4 separate regions of the Homo sapiens genome follow, and all the other regions are linked to region 2. Evidence: promoter capture Hi-C in 16 types of primary human blood cells and fetal thymus (Javierre and others, 2016). All regions are on one chromosome and are shown on one strand. The core of a region is centred on a gene start or on the middle of the fragment in contact, and the rest is flanking DNA. Distances in the headings are between cores, read along the strand shown.

Region 1 (2,700 bases), core at 32-2,531, 350 kb before region 2:
AGCTTTTTTTTTTTTTTTTTTTAACAGAGTCTCGCTCTGTTGCTCAGGCTACAGTCCAGTGGTGCGATCTCGGCTCATTGCAACCTCTGCCTCCCGGGTTCAAGCGATTCTCCTGCCTCAGCCTCCCGAATAGCTGGGACTACAGGCGCACACCACCACGCCCGGCTAATTTTTGTGTGTCTTTAGTAGAGATGGGGTTTCACCGTGTTAGCCAGGATGGTCTTGATCTCCTGACCTCGTGATCCGCCCACCTCGGCCTCCCAAAGTGCTGGGATTACAGGCGTGAGCCACTGCGCCCGGCTTGCTCTAGCTTTTTGAATAGAATTTTGCATAGCACCACCAATTGCTCCAGGTTTTAATGTTGCAACTACAGGAGCAGAAAATTTTATAGCTAATTCACTTTCTCGCCCATTAAGGGGAAAGGGAGGAGGTGGCCATTCACTTAATTCAGCAGGTAGAGCCGATGGGCTAGTAAAATATACTTTTTTCGGTTTCCCCTTTTTTAACCTCTTCTCTTTTTTGCTCCTTGCATTCAGAATCTGAAGTTAGTTTTTTACACTCGTCCTCCTCTTCCTCATCTGAATCTCCCTCATCATCTGTTTGAAAGGGCTCAAGGGCTGCCTTTATTAGTGCCCACATTGACCAAACGGAAACTGGAATTTTTGCTCCCTCTTTATACGCCTTTTTAAAATCTCTGCCAGTTCTCTCCCATTCATCCAACTCCATAGTCCCTTGTTCTGGAAACCATGGGCAAAACTGCTTTACTGTACTAAAGAGTGATAACAAATTTTGAGTACTAACTTTCACTGCCCCTTTTTGTAATAAATGCCTTAAGAAATTCAGATAAGCAGAATGTTCGCTTTCACTTTGTCTGATTGTTACCCTGGTTCTTCTGAGCACTCAGCTTTCCCACCGAGCTTCTTTCAGTCATCCTCGGGTGTCCTCTGATGATACTTCCTCCACTTTCATGTCCTCTAGCGTTCCTTCACCGGGATCTTCATTGTCCCATGTTGGGCGCCAGGAATGCTGGGGTGATCAGACCCAGCACCAGGCCATGGGGGCTACAAAGTCTGGCAGAGTCAAAGGAATGAGAAAAGACAAGTTAAAAGTGCATAAGGTGGGTCCAGGGGTCCAACACTAGTATGGAGGCTGCGAAGGCCCCGAGCTCTGGAAGCCCGTACTGTTTATTGGTGATCAAACAAAGAGGCAGGTGGTGAGGATGTGGGGGTTGAAAGAAAGCACTGCATCAAGTGCATGATTTACAGCTGTGACAGTTTAGCATTTTCTTTGAAGCATATGGAACATTTTCTGCTACTTGAGATAATGGGAAACATGTTCTTCTAGTTTAAGATACAATTGATCTATGAGCCTGGGAATGCTAGAAACAAGGAGCCGGCAAGTCTAGACACATTCCAGAGGCCATGAGGGGTTCCATGCTCTGAGCCCTGGATTCCATCCAAGCCACGAGGGGTTTTATGCCCTGGGCTTAGATTATGGTGCCACAGGGCAGCCTTCCACCCTTTAGCACAGAGCTTGGTGTTCCAAAGGCCATGAGAGGTTTTAGACCCTGGACCCCAGACATGTTCCAAGACTCTTTTACATTATGTCAGACATGCAAGCCCTGCCTCAGCTTTTTTCCCAACACTCAGCTTTTCCCCAATACCTGACCTCAGGTGATCCACCCACCTTGGCCTCCCAAAGTGCTGGGATTACGGGCGTGAGCCACCGTGCCCAGCCAGCTAATTTCTTCCTGAGTAATCTTTATTTCTTTTTAAATCACTCCTCATCTGTAGCTTTTGTGTTAGTGTCCGATTCTGATTATACCATTTCGCTGATGGATTTGATGGCTGCTTAAATGGAATATTCCAGTGTTTAAAGAGTTCTTTATGTACTTTTCCAGGTGGCATAAAATGACACTCCAAGAGTCTTTCACCAAACAGGTAGTTGTTCATTGTTTCAGCAACTATCTTGGCAACATCCTCAGACTCAAACTCCACAAATGCATAGCCTTTGCCATTTCCAGTCATTTTACTTCTGGACAGTCTGAACTGTGTCACAGTGCCAAACTGGGAGAAATATGAAAAGATCTGGGTTTCGTTAAGTAGGGTTGTTCTTGTTTTTTTTGCTGGGTTATGTGCTTGCAAACCTGCGCCACCTCCTTTTGAAACTGGACATCTTCCTGCGGGTTAAGCAGTGAGATCTCAGCCAGGCCAGAAAAAGCTGCCATGCCAAAAGCGGCCGACACTAACTCCACGCGGTGCTCCTGGAAACGTCGGGCTCCCAGCTCCCATGAGGCAGAAAACGGGCATCTATTCTTTTAACATACGTATGTATACACAGTCCAAGTGATGGAACATCAGGATCAGTGGCAGCTGGGAGGGTGGGGGAGGCAGCACCACCTGATATTTAGGAGGGAGAATGACCGGGAGTTGCCGATACGTGGAGTGAGGGATAAGTCAGAGTTGTTCCTAAGATTTTGAGTTTGGGCAATGGTGGCATGGTAAGCTAAGATCAAGGATATGAAGGGAAGAAGGGCTTTCAGGCTGGGAGCATTTAGGAGAGCATGAGAGGATAATGCATGTGTTTTGGACATGAGGTACTTGCAGGGTGTCCACATACAGATGTCTGGGAAACAATAGATGCAGGCTGGGTGTGGTGGCTCACGCCTGTCATCCTAGTCGCCTGGATAGCTGAGGCAGG
Region 2 (2,700 bases), core at 168-2,667:
TGTGTCTCACATTTCTAATGAACTTTGATACTCTACAATCTCAGAAACAACTCAGAGATGTCTCCCTCCCCTACCACCCATCCAACCACCAAAATACCCTGAGGACTCTTTGTCCTCAAGAATCTCTAAGGCAACCAGTTCAGAAGATTGTTGCAATGAATGATGAGGATTCTGCAATAATGAGCTGGAACATACCAGAGAGGAAAACCTGTGCAATTTTGTCCAATTATGGTTCAAGGGAAAAATCCTGTGATTTGCAATGAACACAGGCCTTGGTGGCTGCCATCGATGAAGGACTTTATGCTTGATAATCATTGTACCACATCCTCAACTTTCTTGCCTCTGATCTCAACAAACTCAGCATTGATTATACATCATCATCCCTGTGTGACGGAAGAGGAAACTAGGAGCTTGATGAGAAATGACAGCCAATGTCTGCAGATTCATGAGAGGGCAGGGCTGTATTCCGCTACTGGGTCCTATGCACCATGCAGAACCAGTGTCTTCACGTGGAGACTCATCACTGATCCGAAAGGTGACTGCTTCTGTATTACACTCATTTCCCCATGACCCATCATAAAGTCGTTAGGGCTCTTTTGCTTTCTCCTGAAAGCTTCAAACCAAACATCCTTTCCCATCCCGACTCAAGCCCTCAAGCTGATGCCCTTGCCTCTTGCTCCACCAGATTCTCCTCCTGCTGGCTCCTGCATCACTGTTCTCTGCCCTCATCTCTGTAACCAGAAAACAAGTGTTTCCATCCAAGAATTACCCTCTACTGGTCCCATAAAACTCATTCCCCCATTTACTCAAGAACTTCCCTCCTTCACTTATCCCTTCTCTCTCCTGCAGCCTCATAGTGTCTCTATATTCCATCATTCCCATCAGGACCCCAATAAAGTCTAGAGCCTATTTGTTTATTTATTTATTTACTTATTTATTTGAGATGGAGTCTCACTCTGTCACCTAGGCTGGAGTACAGTGGTGCAATCTGAGCTCACTGCAACCTCCACCTCCCAGATTCAAGCAATTCTCCTGCCTCAGCCTCCCAAGTAGCTTGAATTACAGACGCCCACCACCACGCCTGGCTAATTTTTGTATTTTTAATAGAAGTGAGGTTTCAACATGTTGGCCAGGCTGGTCTCGAACTCCTGACCTCAAGTTATCCACCTGCCTTGGCCTCCCAAAGTGCTGGGATTACAAGCATGAGTCACCGTGCCCGGCCTGTTTAGAACCTCTTTAAAAAAATTATTCTTCAACTCCACATCCTTCTTCAAACAAAGAGTCTATTGTGTTCACCAGTGTATTAAGTGTGTCTATGTCAAGCTACCCAGTCCCCCAGAATATGTTTCTTACCTGGACTGTTCACCAGCTGTGGTCTTGCTCTGGGTAGTTCTAGGTCTGGGTCTCCTGGGGAGAGTGACTCAGGCTCTAATGATTGCAGCAAAACATACACCAAGGAACAGGAGGAGGGGTAAAGGAACTAAAACCAGCTGGGTAGCAGGAAATAGGAAGTCTGAGCTTCTTCTGATTTTTGATGGCCCCAAGAATACACCAATATACTGTCTGCTTTAATGGCATTAGGACAGTGGGCTGGGCCTGTTTAGAAACTCATGTACCTGACTGTATTTCTCAGCCTCAGTCTCTGTGGGATGCAGAGGTTCAGTGCTCTCAACAACAAGGGCCAAGAAATCCAAGTGTCCGGGCCCCTGCTCCCTCCAAGGGTCAAGGTAAAGAAAGCAGCAAGCACTGTGGTGAGAAGAATCAGAGGGAGGCAATGAAAGGAAGAGAAGAAGTCATGAGGGATGGAGACCAGAAACACAGAGAGAGGTAAGGGAGTGGGGGAAGTTGAGACAGTTGGCAGGACAGCGCGTCCACACCCATGCACACCACCAAGATTAACCCCATAATCCTCTGATCTTGTGGAAGCTCATTTGTAGTCTTCTAGCCCAAAGAAATAACCGTTTTTCTGAAATGTTAAGCATCCTTCCAAGGGTATCAGAGTGATATGGAGAAATATGGTAAGACAGTTACAGAATCAGAGATAACGACACTGATTCTAAAAGCATTATTACCAAGGCATTGTTGCATTAAGACTGTTTTTTCTTTTCTTTTAGAGACAGTATCCTGCTACGTTGCCCAGGCATGTCTCAGACCCCTGGGTTTAGTGATCCTCCTGCCTCAGCCTCCCCAAATGCTGGGATTACAGGCATGAGCCGGGCTGTTTTTAATTCTAAGTAATTTATAATTTACAATTACACCTAACAATGGCTTCAACAAGGGGTGTCCAATCTTTTGCCTTCCCTGGGCCACACTGGAAGAAGAAGAATTGTCTTGGGCCACACATAAAATACACTAACACTAACGATACCTGATGAGCTAAAAAAAAAAAAAAAAAAAAAAATCCCCCAAAAATCTGATAATGTTTTAAGAAAGTTTATGAATTTGTGTTGGGCTGCATTCAAAGCCATCTTAGGCCATGGGCTGGACAAGCTTAGCTTAGAACCAAGACGAAATTTATGGTTTACTTTACAAGAATTTTGCAAGAGGGTAATACTAGGTTAGGTTATATCTGGAAAATATCATCAAGAACTACATTCATTTTAATCTTTTCTCTTTTTTATCCCTAATATGGTGACTTTTTTTCCTGGGGATTGCCACTTCATGGCTCCAAGAAAGCTACCACAGCTCCTGACTTCACAT
Region 3 (2,700 bases), core at 128-2,627, 440 kb before region 2:
CTTCCCATTGCCTTATTATACTGGGGATGAGGGTTGGGGTGGAGGAAAAAAGCAAATTTCACTCCAAAAGTCAGTGTTTTCGTTATCCATGAAAATAGATGGAAAAGCTGAACTGTGGCCCACAGGAAGAGGGGCCTGGGGGCCTGGCCTCCTGGGTCTGAGGGAGGAGGGGGCTGGGGGCCTGGACTCCTGGGTCTGAGGGAGGAGGGGCTGGGGGCCTGGACTCCTGGGTCTGAGGGAGGAGGGGCTGGGGGCCTGGACTCCAGGGTCTGAGGGAGGAGGGGCTGGGGGCCTGGACTCCAGGGTCTGAGGGAGGAGGGACTGGGGACCTGGACTCCTGGGTCTGAGGGAGGAGGGGCTGGGGGCCTGGACTCCTAGGTCTGAGGGAGGAGGAACTGGGGACCTGGACTCCTGGGCCTGAGGGAGGAGGGGCTGGGGACCTGGACTCCTGGCTCTGAGGGAGGAGGGGCTGGGGGCCTGGACTCCAGGGTCTGAGGGAGGAGGAGCTGGGGGCCTGGACTCCTGGGTCTGAGGGAGGAGGGGCTGGGGGCCTGGACTCCTGGGTCTGAGGGACGAGGGGCTGGGGGCCTGGGCTCCAGGGTCTGAGGGAGGAGGGGCTGGGGGCCTGGACTCCTGGGTCTGAGGGAGGAGGGGCTGGGGGCCTGGACTCCTGGGTCTGAGGGAGGAGGGGCTGGGGGCCTGGGCTCCAGGGTCTGAGGGAGGAGGGGCTGGGGGCCTGGACTCCTGGGTCTGAGGGAGGAGGGGCTGGGGGCCTGGACTCCTGGGTCTGAGGGAGGAGGGGCTGGGGGCCTGGGCTCCAGGGTCTGAGGGAGGAGGGGCTGGGGGCCTGGACTCCTGGGTCTGAGGGAGGAGGGGCTGGGGGCCTGGGCTCCAGGGTCTGAGAGAGGAGGGGCTGGGCCTGGACTCCTGGGTCTGAGGGAGGAGGGGCTGGGGGCCTGGACTCCTGGGCTGAGGGAGGAGGGGCTGGGGGCCTGGACTCCTGGGTCTGAGGGAGGAGGGGCTGGGGGCCTGGACTCCTGGGTCTGAGGGAGGAGGGGCTGGGGGCCTGGACTCCAGGGTCTGAGGGAGGAGGGGCTGGGGACCTGGGCTCCTGGGTCTGAGAGAGGAGGGACTGGGGCTAGTCTCCTAGGTCCATGGGAGGATGAGATTGGGACTTGAAGGAGGAGGGAGCTGGGTTTTAGGAAGTATCCCAGACTCCGTGTTCTGCGGATGTGGTGGAAAGACGTGGGGACGCCTGGGGCGGGAGGGGTAGGGGCCGGGCCGCAGTAACAAAGGCCTCTCCCTCCAACAAGCAACCCCCCCTTGACCCCGCCTCCCCGGCCCCCCACCTCTCCTGATTGGCCGGTCTCCCTGCCCGTCAGCGCCGCCCCCCTCCCCGGGTCTGCAGCAGCTCCAGCCGCCTCGTCGCGCCCCCCCAGCCCCCTCCCCCCGCCCCCGCCGCCCCCCGGGCCGGTGCAGCGCAGGCGGGGTCCCCCTCCCCCTCCCCCCTCTCCCCCCAGGCCTCGCGCGCCCCGGACCGGCCCCCCCTTTCCCCTCCCCCTCCGCGCCGCCTCTGCCGCGATGCCCCCCCCTGCGCCCGGGGCCCGGCTCCGGCTTCTCGCCGCCGCCGCCCTGGCCGGCTTGGCCGTCATCAGCCGAGGTACCGCAGCGCCGGGGGCGGGGGGCTCGGCCGGGACGCCAGGGTCTTGGGTGGGTAATCGGGGGATCAGGGGTGGGGGTCGAGGGCTGCATCCCTGGGCCGGCGCGGGGAGGCCCCGGGACGCCGGGGTCTGGGCCCGGGGGTGGGGTCTGCATTCCCTGGCTGGGCAGGGGGACCTCGGACGTGGGGGTCCGCGCCCCGGGGCAGGGGTCGGCGTCCTCGGGCCGGAGCCGGGTCTAGGGGCGGAGGTCTGCTTCCCCGAGCAGGCAAGAGGGTCGCAGACACCTAGCCCTGCCTGGGGGCAGGAGTCTGCGGCTCCTGTTGAGGAGGGGGCAGACACTGGACTCGGGGTCCCCGGGTCGGATCTCCGAACTGAGTTGGGGTGGGGGGCAGGGGATAATGCCCTGTTAGGGGTCTTCATCTGTACGTGGAGAGGGTCCCTGAAGAGGTCCTTGCCGGGGGCTGGGGTAGTCATCTCGGGACAGAGGTCAGGGGATGGATGCCTTCCCAGGGTCAGTAAGAGGAGGGGACAAGGGTGTCCACAGACCTAGTCCCAGGGTCAGGAAAAGAGGGGAAGGGTCTGAAATCCCCCAGCAGGGTCATCTAGGTTGAGAGAAAGTGTTGGTACTTGGGGAGGTTGCAGTTATGTGGGGGAGAAGGGAGCTGGAGATACAGGAAGTTGGGGTGCTGGGCTGGGGTCTTGGATTCCCAAGCTCTGATTGAATGTCTAGGTTCGTGGGGCTGGACAGTGGAAGAGCGATGGGCATGGGAGGATGAAGGAAAGACGGAAGGGAAGGGTTAAAGCAGGTTGAAGGGTTAACCCCGGCCCGGCCCGGCCCTCCCAGTTGGGGAGAGGGCCAGGGGCAGGTTTCTGCACTGAGGTTAGATAGCTGGACCTTGAGTCTCCCCAGTAGGGCCTGGCAGGCAGGGGGTGGTCAAGGAGATTCCTAGATTTCCCCCTAAGAAAAGGGAGGAGAGTGCAAGGAGGCAGGAGGCTGGAGGGTGGGCGCTCAGGAGGGCAGGGAGCTGGGTTAATTCAG
Region 4 (2,700 bases), core at 188-2,687, 320 kb before region 2:
TAGGTATCTGTTTAAGTTCATGCTTTCAATTCTGGGAACATATCTAGGAATCGATGGCTGGATTACACTGTATTTCTAGGCTTAACTTTCGGAGAGAATTCCAAAGAGTTTTCCACAGGGTCACACCATTTTACATGCAGTGCAAAGGGGCTCCCACTTGTCCATATTCTTGCAAACAATTAGTATTTTTTTTTCTTTTGAGACGGAGTCTCAATCTCTCGCCAGGCTGGAGTGCAGTGGCACCATCTCGGCTCACTGCAACCTCCACCTCCTTGGCTCAAGCAATCCTCCCACCTCAGCCTCCCGAGTAGTTGGGACCACAGGTGCTCACTGCCACGCCCGGCTAATTTTTGTATTTTTTGTAGAGATGAGGTCTCACCATGTTGCCCAGGCTGGTCTTGAACTCCTGACCTCAAGCAATTCTTCCTCTTTGGCCTCCCAAAGTGTTAGGATTATAGGCGTGAGCCACTGTGCCCAGCTTATGCTTTATATTTTAAGAGTTCTAGTGACAGTGCAGTGGCATCTTATGTTTAATTTTTAAAAATTTACTTAAAGTTAGATATGGTTGAATTCATTCTTTATCATATGTAATTTTATGTGGGTTGACCGATGCATATAGTTATATACACAACCGCTGTGAAGACAATGAAAAGTGTCATTACCTGAACATTTCCTCCCTCTGCTGACTCTAGGTAGTCAATCCTCCCTCTACACTTAGTCCCTGAGAAAACACGGATCTATTCTCCATCCCTGCCATTTTGCCTTTTTATAGAATGTCATATAAATGGAATCATACAAAATGTATCCTCTAAAATCTGGCTTCATTTACTTGGCATAATGCTTTTGAGGCTCATCTATGGGGCTGGGTATAAATCTGTCATTTTAGTTTAATTGTTGACTGGTGCTCCATTGTTTTCATGGTCTCTCATTTTGCATGTATTTGCCATTTGCGGAGCATTGCAACTGTTTTCAGGTTCTGGTGACTCTAAAATAATGTTGCTATAAACATTCCATTCAACTTTCTGCGTGTGAACATAAGTTTTTAATTCCCTTGAGTAAAAACCTAGGAGTCGAGTGCTTGGTCAGACGTACACTTGGTCAAGTGTAAGTTTAAATTTATACAAAATTGACAAACTATTCTCCAAAGTGTATATACCATTTTGTATTCCTACCAGCAGTAGACATGAGCTCTGATCACTTCACATCCTTGCTAGCATGTGATATCATCCACATATTTTAAAATTTCTTGTTACCTTTGTTGTACTTTTCAGTCATTTTTCTTAGGTATGTAATTCTACCTCATTCTTCTTCTATTCTACAATTACCTAATGACAAATTATATTGAGGCTATTTTCACGGCCTTGTTCGCCATCTGCTTTTCTTTTTTGGTGAGGTGGCTATGAAATCTTCAGTAGCTTTTTTCTTAATTGTGGTAAAATATACAGAAGAAAAAAATTACCGTTTTAACTATTTTTCAGTGTTTAGAGAAGTTGCACCAAGTACACTCACGTTGTTATGAATCACTATGATTTATCTCCAGAAGTTTCTTCACCTTCCCAAACTGAAACTGCATCAAAGAGGTGAAAACCCCCTATTTCTTTCTGATCACAGCCCCTGGCAAGCATGGCTCTACTTTCCGTGTCTGTGAATTTGCCTCCTCTACACACCTCATATAAGTGGAATCATACAGTGTTTGTCCTGCTGTGACTGACTTAGAATATATTTAAGGTTCATCCACGCTGCATCATGTGCTAGCTTCTCCTTCTTTTTTTTTTTTTTTTTTTTTTTTGTTGTTGTTTGAGACGGAGTTTCACTCTTGTCGCCCAGGCTGGAGTGTGATGGCGTGATCTCAGCTCACTGCAACCTCCACCTCCCAGGTTCAAACAATTCTCCTGCCTCAGCCTCCTGAGTAGCTGGGATTACAGGCACCTGCCACCAGGCCCGGCTAATTTTTTTTTTTTTTTTTTTTTGAGACAGAGTTTCGCTCTTGTTGCCCAGGCTGGAGTCCAGTGGCGTCATCTTGGCTCACTGCAACCTCCACCTCCCAGGTTCAAGCAATTCTCCTGCTTCAGCCTCCCGAGTAGCTGGGATCACAGGTACGTGCCACCACACCTGGCTAATTTTGTATTTTTAGTAGAGATAGGGTTTCACCATGTTGGTCAGGCTGCTCTCAAATGCCTGACCTCAGGTGATCCACCCGCCTCGGCCTCCCAAAGTGCTGGGATTACAGGCGTGAGCCACCGTGCCCGGCCTGTATTTTCTTTTCTTTTTTTTTTTTTTTTTAGTAGAGATGGGGTTTCACCATATTGGCCAGGCTGGTCTCGAACTCCTGACCTCAGGTGATCCACCTGCCTCGGCCTCCCAAAGTGCTGGGATTACAGGTGTGAGCCACCATGCCTGTCTCCTTGGTTTTTTTGTTTGTTTTGTTTTTTGTTTTCTTTTTCTTTTTCTTTTTTTTTGAGATAGGGTCTTGCTCTGTTGCCCAGGCTGCAGTGCAGTGGCATGATTGGGCTCACTGAAACCTCTGCCTCCCAGGTTCAAGCGATTCTGCTGCCTCAGTCTCCCGAGTACCTGGGATTACAGGCACATGTCATCATGCCTGGCTAATTTTTATATTTTTAGCAGAGATGGGGTTTCATCATGTGGGCCAGGCTGGTCTAGAACTCCTGACTTCAAGTGATATGCCCACCTCGGCCTCCC

What was found. Contacts are between HindIII fragments. The CHiCAGO score rates a contact against its expected background, and 5 or more counts as called.
Region 1: a fragment that was not itself captured here is called in contact with the fragment with the promoter of FPR1 in region 2 in 1 of 17 cell types (neutrophils); the score reaches 5.2 in neutrophils.
Region 3: a contact is called between the fragment with the promoter of IGLON5 here and the fragment with the promoter of FPR1 in region 2, in 5 of 17 cell types (naive B cells, total B cells, activated CD4 T cells and 2 more). The highest score is 7.3, in naive B cells.
Region 4: a fragment that was not itself captured here is called in contact with the fragment with the promoter of FPR1 in region 2 in 1 of 17 cell types (monocytes); the score reaches 5.4 in monocytes.

What each region holds. Positions count from the first base shown.
Region 1 is chr19:51,401,300-51,403,999 of GRCh38, forward strand. It overlaps the pseudogene NIFKP6. Among named protein-coding and RNA genes, the nearest start is that of C19orf84, 12 kb to the left of the region's middle. The HindIII fragment of the contact is 6,389 bases long and covers 1-2,700 here.
Region 2 is chr19:51,750,461-51,753,160 of GRCh38, forward strand. It overlaps FPR1 (formyl peptide receptor 1), which reads right to left and starts at 1,418. Exons shown (of 2, transcript NM_002029.4): 1 at 1,354-1,418. The HindIII fragment of the contact is 1,877 bases long and covers 612-2,488 here.
Region 3 is chr19:51,310,267-51,312,966 of GRCh38, forward strand. It overlaps IGLON5 (IgLON family member 5), which reads left to right and starts at 1,378. Exons shown (of 8, transcript NM_001101372.3): 1 at 1,378-1,660. The coding sequence starts at 1,582. The HindIII fragment of the contact is 5,776 bases long and covers 1-2,700 here.
Region 4 is chr19:51,431,675-51,434,374 of GRCh38, forward strand. No RefSeq gene overlaps it. Among named protein-coding and RNA genes, the nearest start is that of SIGLEC10, 15 kb to the left of the region's middle. The HindIII fragment of the contact is 7,506 bases long and covers 1-2,700 here.